Linked DNA regions of Homo sapiens: region 2 is linked to region 1. Evidence: promoter capture Hi-C in 16 types of primary human blood cells and fetal thymus (Javierre and others, 2016). All regions are on one chromosome and are shown on one strand. The core of a region is centred on a gene start or on the middle of the fragment in contact, and the rest is flanking DNA. Distances in the headings are between cores, read along the strand shown. Region 1 holds the start of TMEM209 (transmembrane protein 209). Region 2 has its middle 14 kb from the start of TSGA13.

Region 1 (5,322 bases), core at 108-2,607:
TCTTTTCTCATCTTGATGGTTCTGTCAATAAGGGAAGCACTAGGGTGTGCCTCCCCCTGCATCTATGAAAAAACAAAAAGCACAGGAATTAACCAGAAGAAACTATTGCTCCATTTAAAAACCAAATTTTGCATCCCTTATAAAGGTAACTGAAACCGCATATACCTTCTCTCATCTTTAAAATGTTTTATCAAAACTTCTTCCATTTTAATATCAGTATATGAAAAGGGAACCCAAAATTATATGTAACTTAATTGGCATCACAGTGTAATCAACAGAGAAGTGGCTGGTTATTTATCTATTTATTTGTTTTGAGACGGAGTCTTGCTGTCTCCCAGGCTAGAATGCAGTGGCGCGATCTCGACTCACTGCAACCTCCGCCTCCCGGGTTCAAGCGATTCTCCTGCCTCAGACTCCCGAGTAGCTGGGATTACAGACGCCCGCCACCGCGTCCGACTGATTTTTGTATTTTTAGTAGAGACGGGATTTCAACATTTTGGCCAGGCTGGTCTCGAACTCCTGACCTTGTGATCCACCCGCCTCGGCCTCCCAAAGTGTTGGGATTACAGGCGTGAGCCACCGCGCCCAGCCGTGGCTGGTTATTTAAGAACAATTTAATACTTCCAATACATAAAAATGTCTTATTTTGTAATTTAAGGGTTATGTCTAGAAATACTTTGTATTTTGTCTTTGGGGTATGTTACACGGACTAGGCAAAAGGCTAACTTCAGAAACTCAAAATGTCAAGTTTTGGGAGACTATATTCCATATCTGCTGTAAGTCATAAAGACTGTTGTACATCCTCATGCAGACGCCATTACTATCTCAACAACTCTGCACTTGGACAGCTGTACTCCAGGGCTCTCCCTTTTGTGTGTGGATAAAGGACAAGGATCCAAGTTTTAGAAGGGCACGTACTTATGATGGGGTGGTGAGCGGAGTAAGAGGGAGAGAGGGGAAAACGTGCATTGTTTTGGTCCACATTTGGGATTTATAATTCCTCCTTTCTTCAGCTAGGCTCAACTCTTACAGACCGTGCAAAACTTGTTCCAGCGACAAGCAGTCGTATCCCACAGAGGACAGAGCAATAGCTTTCGCGCCACTCAGCCCCCGCGTCCCAATTTCCCAGTCCAGAGCTTCCCTCCCCGGCTCCTGGGCACGAACTTCAGCAACCCTATTGCTTCTTTCTTCCCTTCCCCTAGAGAGGCGGAACGCCTAGCCACATCCCCCTTGGCTGAACCCAGGACAGATCAGCAGGCGCGGAACTCCCACAACCCGCGTAGATTCCAAGACAGGAAGCACAAACACGACCCCGAAAACGCACCATGTCCTCTGGCCGGAAAACGCAGGCTCGCGCCACTCTCTCTGGGCATGCGCAAAGCCAAGCTCAAGCGGGAGGCCACCGGCAAGCGGCTCTAAAGTTACCGGAAGAACTAGGTAGTCTCTTCTCGCGAGAAAGGGAGGGGTCGCAGGCCCAGGCGCTCGGAGCGTTACCAGGGAAACAGGTCTCGGTTTTGCGGCTCCCACTCAGCTGCGGGAGAAAGCTAAGCAGCAAAATTCAGACCAGGCTCTGAACCCGCAGTAAAAAGTAATAATTGTAACAAGCTGAATTTTGTATCTATTAATATAATTTTAGCTTCCCTAGGGCATTTATGGACTCACATGTGTAAACTGATTAAGTAGGGCGGCTCACCGTAGGATAGAGTGGCGTGATAAAGTGGCCAGACACCATCAGTGACAAAGCATTTCTTTCCCCTGTGTTAAAGTATCTATGTCAAGAGTCCTGACCCCATGTAATTTTTTTTTTGGTAGAGACAGGGTTTCGCCATGTTGGCCAGTCTGGTCTCGATTTCCTAACCTCAAGGGATCCGCCCGCCTCAGCCTCCCAAACGCCTGCTGGCCTCCCACCGCCTTTTGGGATTACAGGCGTGGCCCACCGCGCCCGGCCTAAATTCTTAATCTGTTTAATAGGGTGCAGCAATAACAAGCACACCCAAAATTTGTTTTATTGAAGTTGCTAGTGGTTTTGAGGTTAAAAATAATAACACATTTTCGTATGTATTTTTTGGAAGAGCTGCTCATCCTGAGGAAAAGGTTGAGCTTTGTTTTATTTAGCACAAATACCTACAAGTGTGCCGCTGAGCCAGGCGCACGGATATAGAAAATAAGACCTTCCTGGTTATTACCCAGAGGAGCTCAACCCCAGCGGAGGCCCACAGATGCATTTCGGTGGCAGGTGAGGTGGATGCAGTGCTCCCCAAGGAGGCGCATCCAGCCCAGCCCCAGCTCTCGCGAGCTTCCTGGAGGAGATGACGCGTTAGAGTCCACAGCCAGAAACCCAGGGCCTGGGGACTTGTTCTGAAGTGTGCCTCCTAATAAAAACATTAAGCCATGCCACAGTAAGCTAGTGGATTACATCATGTATGTCCAATGGCCAAAGTTTTTCCTAAAATGATCCTAAGATTAATACCACGTGGTATTGTATATTAATGAAAATCGGCAGGTATGCTGTGCTCTTGAAGAGCTGTTAAGTTTTATCATTTTTAGATTGCTTTAGCAGCAATGTTGTTTTGCTCTAGTTTTAGATTTAGAGATGAACTAACTGGAAAATTGTTCAAAGTGAAAGGGCTCAAGGTGCAATCAAAATTAGAATACCGGCCGGGCGCGGTGGCTCACGCCTGTAATCCCAACACTTTGGGAGGCCGAGGCGGGCGGATCACGAGGTCAGGAGATGGAGACCAGCCTGGCCAAGACGCTGAAACCCTGTCTCTACTAAAAAGACAAAAAATTAGTAGGGCGTGGTGGCATGCGCCTGTAATCCCAATTACTCTGGAGGCTGAGGCAGGAGAATCACTTGAGCCTGGGAAGCCGAGGTTGCGGTGAGCCAAGATGGTGCCACTGCATTCCAGTCTGGGCGACAGAGTGAGACCCTGCTAAAAAAAAAAAAAAAAAAAATTAGAATACCGGTTTCCCACCCCCTCCATATGTGACTCTTTCCTAAGAAGAAATTGTATGCATTTGATGTAGTTCATAGTAGTTCATAACGGGCACATCTGTGTTTTTCCCTCTTAATCTATAAGCTGTTGTGCATTTATTCAAGGCTTAAAAAAGAACACCACTGACCAAATGACAGCATTATGTATTAGGGCTGCCATAACGCAATATCACAGACAGGTGGCTTAAACAACAGAAATTATTTTTTTCATAATTTTGGAGGCTGGAAGTCTAAGATCAAATTGTCAGCAGGGTTGGTTTCTCCTGAGGCGGGTCTCCTTGCAGACGGCCCCCTTGTATTGTGACCTTGATTTCTGTGCTCGTGAATCCTTGCTGTCTTCTTGTAAGGATACCAATTGTATTGGATTAGGGCCCTTATGACCTCATTTAACTTTAATTACCTCCTTAAAGGCCCTGTCTCCAAATAGAGTCACACTGGAGGTGAGGGCTTCAACATATGAATTTTAGGGAACACAGTTTGATCGGTAATACATTAGAACTGTCTATGATAATTTGCAATGGCATGATACATATAAAAGAGACTGAATTAAAATGAGTGGATACATTAAACACTTAGACGTGAAGATAGGAAAATATAGCATATACAAGTTTTAGGAAAAAAAATTAAGGCAGAATGCACCATATTGAGGTATGGGGGAAAATAACATAAACATTCAGAGGAGTAATTTGAATAACCTTCCACAAACTTAGAAGTCCAAGAAGCATTTGTCAGTTCCTAGAACAGTTGCTTAAGTATGTGTCATAATAGGTTGCCAAGGAAATTGTCATACATCATAGAGGGAGTGAAGTAGTTCCCAGTCATCTTTATCCCTTTAAGCATGGTTTATTTTCTGAGCAAGGAGTCATCATGGGAGACCTTTTTTCCTTATTTTGGGAGGTAGATCCTCCCCCAATACCTGTAAATTGTGCCATTCCAAATCAGGATTATGAATGCTGGAAGGATGACTCTTGTGGAACCATAGGGAGCTTCCTGCTTTGGTATTTTGTTATCGTATTTGTCCTGATGTTCTTCTCTAGGGCTTCTGTCTGGGTAGGATATCTTTTTTTCATTTTAAATAATATGTTTACTGTACACTAGGAAAATTTCCATAAAATACATTTACTATACTTTGATGAAACTACTTTTAAAAGTTGTTTAGTTTTAAAAATAATGCAATCTTATTCTGGAGAATCCAGGAATATGGAAAAGGATGAAGAGGAAAATATAAAGCTACAGTTATCCTCTTTCCCAGAGATAACCACTGTTAACATTTTGGAGTATGTTCTTCCAGTTTGGTTTTTTTCTCTGCCTTTCCCAATATATCTCTCTCCATTTCTCTATCTTTGATCTTACATGGTTGGCATTATATTGCATATATTTTCATATCCTGCTTTTTAAGCTTAATAATATATCAGAAATACTTCTTTAAATTATATTCACTCAGCAGCACTTTTAATGACTGCATAATTTTCTATATTTTGATTGCACCAAAAAATTGTGCAAGTTTGAAACATTCAGATTGTTTACAGTTTATCCATCTGCTATGTAATGCTGGCATAAACCTCCCTGCTGGTTAATGACTTCCAAATCCCTTTTCTAGCCATGTGATTCTAATCAAAGATATGAAAGTTGTCATATTGATAGGATACATGCTGTAGGATTTTGGGGTTTTTAGAATGAAGCAATACGCTTTCTGCACAGAATAAGCAGAACTAGACTAAACAGAACTAAAGTCACCACTAAAATGCCATCGTCTTAAGAATGAGATATCCCACTTTATCAGGACTGTGATGCTTCCAACATATTATGAGTAACCAAGCTCTTTTTTTTTTTTCTTGAGATGGAGTCTTGCTCTGTCACCCAGGCTGGAGTGAAGTGGTGCAATCTTGGCTCACTACAACCTCCGCCTCCCGGATTCAAGTGACTCTCCTGCCTCAGCCTCCCTTGTAGCTGGGACCACAGGCGCAAGCCACCACGCTCTGCTAACTTCTGTATTTTTAGTACAGATGGGGTTTCACCATGTTGGCCAGGCTGGTCTCAAACTCCTGACCTCAAGTAGTCTGCCCGCTTTGGCCTCCCAAAGTGCTGGGATTACAGGCATGAGCCACCGCGCCCAGCCGTAACCAAGCTCTTATAATTTGCTGACATGATATCCTTGCTGGCCATTAATACCAGGCTGATGATTAAGAAAACCACCATCATTTAGCATTATAGCCATAGGCCTGGGCTGGCAGTGGTAAGACTTAATGCTCTATGAGCTCGGATGGGGTGGAGAAGGTTTGTTATGTCCATGCCAGCTGGATTCCATTCTAATCAAAGACTCTTTG
Region 2 (4,571 bases), core at 572-3,071, 490 kb after region 1:
CTCAGGGTGGATTTTAAAAATATGGCCATGTACTATTTGCCTACATATATCAAAAATATAGTAACACATAATGGCTGAAAAAGGTAGTCCTAGGAGTTTTTTCTCATTCTTTATGTCCTCTTTAAAAAAATTCCTTCACCCCTATCTACTTTGCCTCCTGTGCTACCATATCTCTATGTTACAGGTGACGTCCAAGAGCCTCCTACCAAACAAGAGGGCCAATTATAGCAGGTTGGAGATGTCCAAGTAAATCTAGGAGGTATTGGGTTACTTTGGCTGGGATTAAAAAATACCAGAAACCATTCGCTTTCATCTGGCAGGGACAACAATACATCTTTACCATTTTGCGGCAAGTGTGTCAGATATTTGCCCATTATTTTTCTGTACTCTGCACTAGGACACTGTGACTAGACACTGCAAACTTCACATTCCAGAGCCCCTTGCTAGCTAGCTTCTGCCAATTGGAGGCACTTCCAAAAACCATAAAGTGGAGGAGGTAAGAAGTAGTGTCTTCCAGTTTCCAGTTCTAGTTTGCTTACTCTCCAGCTACAGCAGACAGCTATGATTTGATTCCAGCCTTCAGCTTGTTATTCCCAGCAATATTCTCACTATGCCCCATCAAGATACTAGTAGCAGCCAAGCCCATCATTCACTTTTATCCATTTGGCCATAGCCCCTTGAGTGGTGCAGCCTACACTTCCTCAGCAGTCTAAGCACTAGAAGTAAAGTATCCTCTTCTGTATGTTCTGGTAATATCACTTCTTCCATTTTGTTCCCCCAGGTCTAAGGTGGTACCTTCTAAAGAGATTAATCTGTGGGTTGCCTCAACCTCTCATTTTTGCTTGTTTGGTGTTCCAATACCTGCGTAATCAATTCCCTTTATTAACTACCCTTTGTTTGAAATATCTAGTGTGGTTTACGTTCTTATGATTAGACTCTGACTGATAGAAGAACCTTGATCCTCTCACCATTCCAAAGAAAATTATGCTGGTCCACTACAGAGAGGGCTAAGAAAGCAGGGAATATCCTAAAAGCTTTGGTAAAACTCATGAATGTCAGGAAGAAGAAAATCTGAGGGCTTTTACATTAATGCATCTTCTAGAGGGTCCAGTTTAGGAGTATACAGGTTATCTCCTCCTCAGTGGACTGGCCTGCCTTACAGTAAGAAAAATGTAAAATTTTTGGTGGCAACCAATGGCACATTTGGGTGTGTTACACTGACAAATCCAATAGGTGACTTTGAAAAACTGACAAATTTTAGTGGGACTTAAAGCAAGAAAAGTTCCTTCAGCTGGTTCAGGCTGCAAGCAAGCAGCTCTGTCACTTGGCTCTTATGATTCAGTAGATCCAATGATGCGAAAAGGTCGGGATGACGAAACCAGCCCATGTGACTCCTCAGTAGGTAGGATCACATTAGTGACCTGCAGCGTTCTGTGGAAAAAGCCACACCCTGTGGGCAACTAAATATTCTCCTTATGAACCTCATGTTATATTTTGGGGGAATATATGTCTAAAAAATAAAAATGCTGGGTCATAAGATATATTTGTTTAATATAATTTGTCTGAGAAATGTCAAATTGCTGCCTGTAATCTCAGCACTTTGGGAGGCCAAGGCTGGCAGATCACCTGAGGTCAGGAGTTGGAGACCAACCTGACCAACATGGAGTTGGAGACCAACCTGACCAACATGGCAAAACCCCATCTCTACTAAAAATACAAAAATTAGCCGGGTGTGGTGGCTCGCACCTGTAGTCCCAGCTACTCGTAAGGCTGAGGCAGGAGAATTGCTTGAACCCGGGAGGCGGAGGTTGCAGTGAACCAACAGAGTGCCACTGTACTCCAGCCTGGGCGACAGAGTGAGACTTTGTCTCAAAAAGAAAGAAAGAAAGAAATGCCAAATTGCACTCCACAATGGCTGCCTCTTTTAAATATCTGCTTTGAAGGATTGCCCTTGGGCTACTGGAGCCACTTATCCCAGAGAATAGGAAGTGTCTGGGAGATTAGGTACCCCCAGTACATCTGTAGTCAATGGACCACTGCAGTATAAGGATGAAAGCCCAGCTCCTTTGCCTTAGACTCTTTCAGGCTGAGGCATAATTTCCTCTCCAGAACTCCCTTATAGGATCAGATTAAGGCTAGGACTCTGTCTGAAATACAGTACATCTTTCTTTAGTTTCTTCTATTTTTCTGTCCTTCATCCCCAACTTCCTTACCAGTTTATGCTGGGATGACTTTCTTAATAAGTTATTTGAAAATAAATCTATGTCTCAAGATTGGCTTTTGGCGAACATGAGCTAAGTCACATTGCCCCATCCACACTTAGTATCATTCAACTTTCTAATTCTTCCCTATTTCACTGTTGTTTCAATTTGCATTTCTTTGATTATTAATGAGTTTAAACATTTCTTCATATTTATCAACTTTTGGTTCCTTATTTAAATGCTGATTCATATCTTTTGCCTATTATTTTAATGAAGTTGCTGACATTTTCTTGTGAATTTGCAAGATTTTGTTATATATTCTAGATATCAACCCATAGTCAGCTTTAAATGGTATGAATAATTTTCTTTAATTCTATTAGCTGTCCATTAATTTTTTCCCTGGATAGAAAGCTTTTGTGTGTGTGTGTGTGCCTCCACCAAGATTTTTTAAATTAACTATTTTAAATTCAGTGACATTTAGTTCATTTGCAGCATTGTGCAACCACCGCATCTATCTAGTTTTGAAACATTTTCTTCACTCTAAAGTAAAACCTTTTGCACATTAAACAGTTTCTCCTCTTTCTCTCTAACCTGCCAGTACCTGGCAGCCACCAATCTGTGTTCTATCTTTATGAATTTATCTATTCTGGATATTTCATACAAATGGAATCATACAATATGTGATCTTTGGTGTCTGGCTTCTTTCACTTAGCTAATGTTTTAGAGGTTCATCCATGTTATAGCATGTATTAGGTACGGTACTTCATCCTTTTTTTTAATCACTGAAAAATATGCTTATGAATATACTGCAATTTGTTTATCCACTCTTCCACTGATAGACATTTGGGCTGTTTCCACCTTTTGACTATTATCAATAGTGCTGTTATGAACATGTGTGTACATGTGCTTATTTGAGTGCCTGTTTTTATTATTTGCAGCATATAGTGCTAGCATTTACCTAGGAGTGTAAATGCTAGATCATATGGCTAACCATTTTACATTCCCACTAGCAATGTATGAGGTTCCAATTTCTCCACATCCTTGCAAACATTTATTTTCTGGTGGTTTTTTGTTGTTGTTGTTGTTGTTGTTGTTTTTGTTTTTGTTTTTCACTTGTAGTCATCCCAGTGGGTGTGAAGTATTACCTCGGTGTTGGAAAGCTTTTTTGATGTAAATAGGTTAATTAATGTTTTGACTTATGGTTGTGTTTTCTTTTTTTTTTTTTTTAATTTATAAACTTTATTTAAACTTTATTTTTTTTTTCTTTTATCCGTAAACTTCTTTTTTTTTTTTTTTATTATACTCTAAGTTTTAGGGTACATGTGCACATTGTGCAGGTTAGTTACATATGTATACATGTGCCATGCTGGTGCGCTGCACCCACTAATGTGTCATCTAGCATTAGGTATATCTCCCAATGCTATCCCTCCCCCCTCCCCCGACCCCACCACAGTCCCCAGAGTGTGATATTCCCCTTCCTGTGTCCATGTGATCTCATTGTTCAATTCCCAGCTATGAGTGAGAATATGCGGTGTTTGGTTTTTTGTTCTTGCGATAGTTTACTGAGAATGATGGTTTCCAATTTCATCCATGTCCCTACAAAGGATATGAACTCATCATTTTTTATGGCTGCATAGTATTCCATGGTGTATATGTGCCACATTTTCTTAATCCAGTCTATCATTGTTGGACATTTGGGTTGGTTCCAAGTCTTTGCTATTGTGAATAGTGCCGCAATAAACATACGTGTGCATGTGTCTTTATAGCAGCATGATTTATACTCATTTGGGTATATACCCAGTAATGGGATGGCTGGGTCAAATGGTATTTCTAGTTCTAGATCCCTGAGGAATCGCCACACTGACTTCCACAATGGTTGAACTAGTTTACAGTCCCACCAACAGTGTAAAAGTGTTCCTATTTCTCCGCATCCTCTCCAGCACCTGTTGTTTCCTGACTTTTTAATGATTGCCATTCTAACTGGTGTGAGATGATATCTCATAGTGGTTTTGATTTGCATTTCTCTGATGGCCAGTGATGATGAGCATTTCTTCATGTGTTTTTTGGCTGCATAAATGTCTTCTTTTGAGAAGTGTCTGTTCATGTCCTTCGCCCACTTTTTGATGGGGTTGTTTGTTTTTTTCTTGTAAATTTGTTTGAGTTCATTGTAGATTCTGGATATTAGCCCTTTGTCAGATAAGTAGGTTGCGAAAATTTTCTCCCATGTTGTAGGTTGCCTGTTCACTCTGATGGTAGTTTCTTTTGCTGTGCAGAAGCTCTTTAGTTTAATTAGATCCCATTTGTCAATTTTGTCTTTTGTTGCCATTGCTTTTGGTGTTTTGGACATGAAGTCCTTGCCCACGCCTATGT

Evidence for each region. The method cuts DNA at HindIII sites, captures the fragments that hold promoters and counts their contacts. A CHiCAGO score of 5 or more calls a contact.
Region 2: a fragment that was not itself captured here is called in contact with the fragment with the promoter of TMEM209 in region 1 in 1 of 17 cell types (erythroblasts); the score reaches 5.6 in erythroblasts.

What each region holds. Positions count from the first base shown.
Region 1 is chr7:130,204,049-130,209,370 of GRCh38, forward strand. TMEM209 (transmembrane protein 209) reads right to left here and starts at 1,358. Exons shown (of 15, transcript NM_032842.4): 1 at 1,325-1,358; 2 at 1-62. The coding sequence starts at 1,327. SSMEM1 (serine rich single-pass membrane protein 1) reads left to right here and starts at 3,812. Exons shown (of 3, transcript NM_145268.4): 1 at 3,812-4,045. The coding sequence starts at 3,863. RefSeq lists a silencer at 1-135 and enhancers at 797-1,596, 1,273-1,452, 1,513-1,622. The HindIII fragment of the contact is 16,046 bases long and covers 1-4,392 here.
Region 2 is chr7:130,698,513-130,703,083 of GRCh38, forward strand. No RefSeq gene overlaps it. Among named protein-coding and RNA genes, the nearest start is that of TSGA13, 14 kb to the left of the region's middle. The HindIII fragment of the contact is 1,578 bases long and covers 1,033-2,610 here.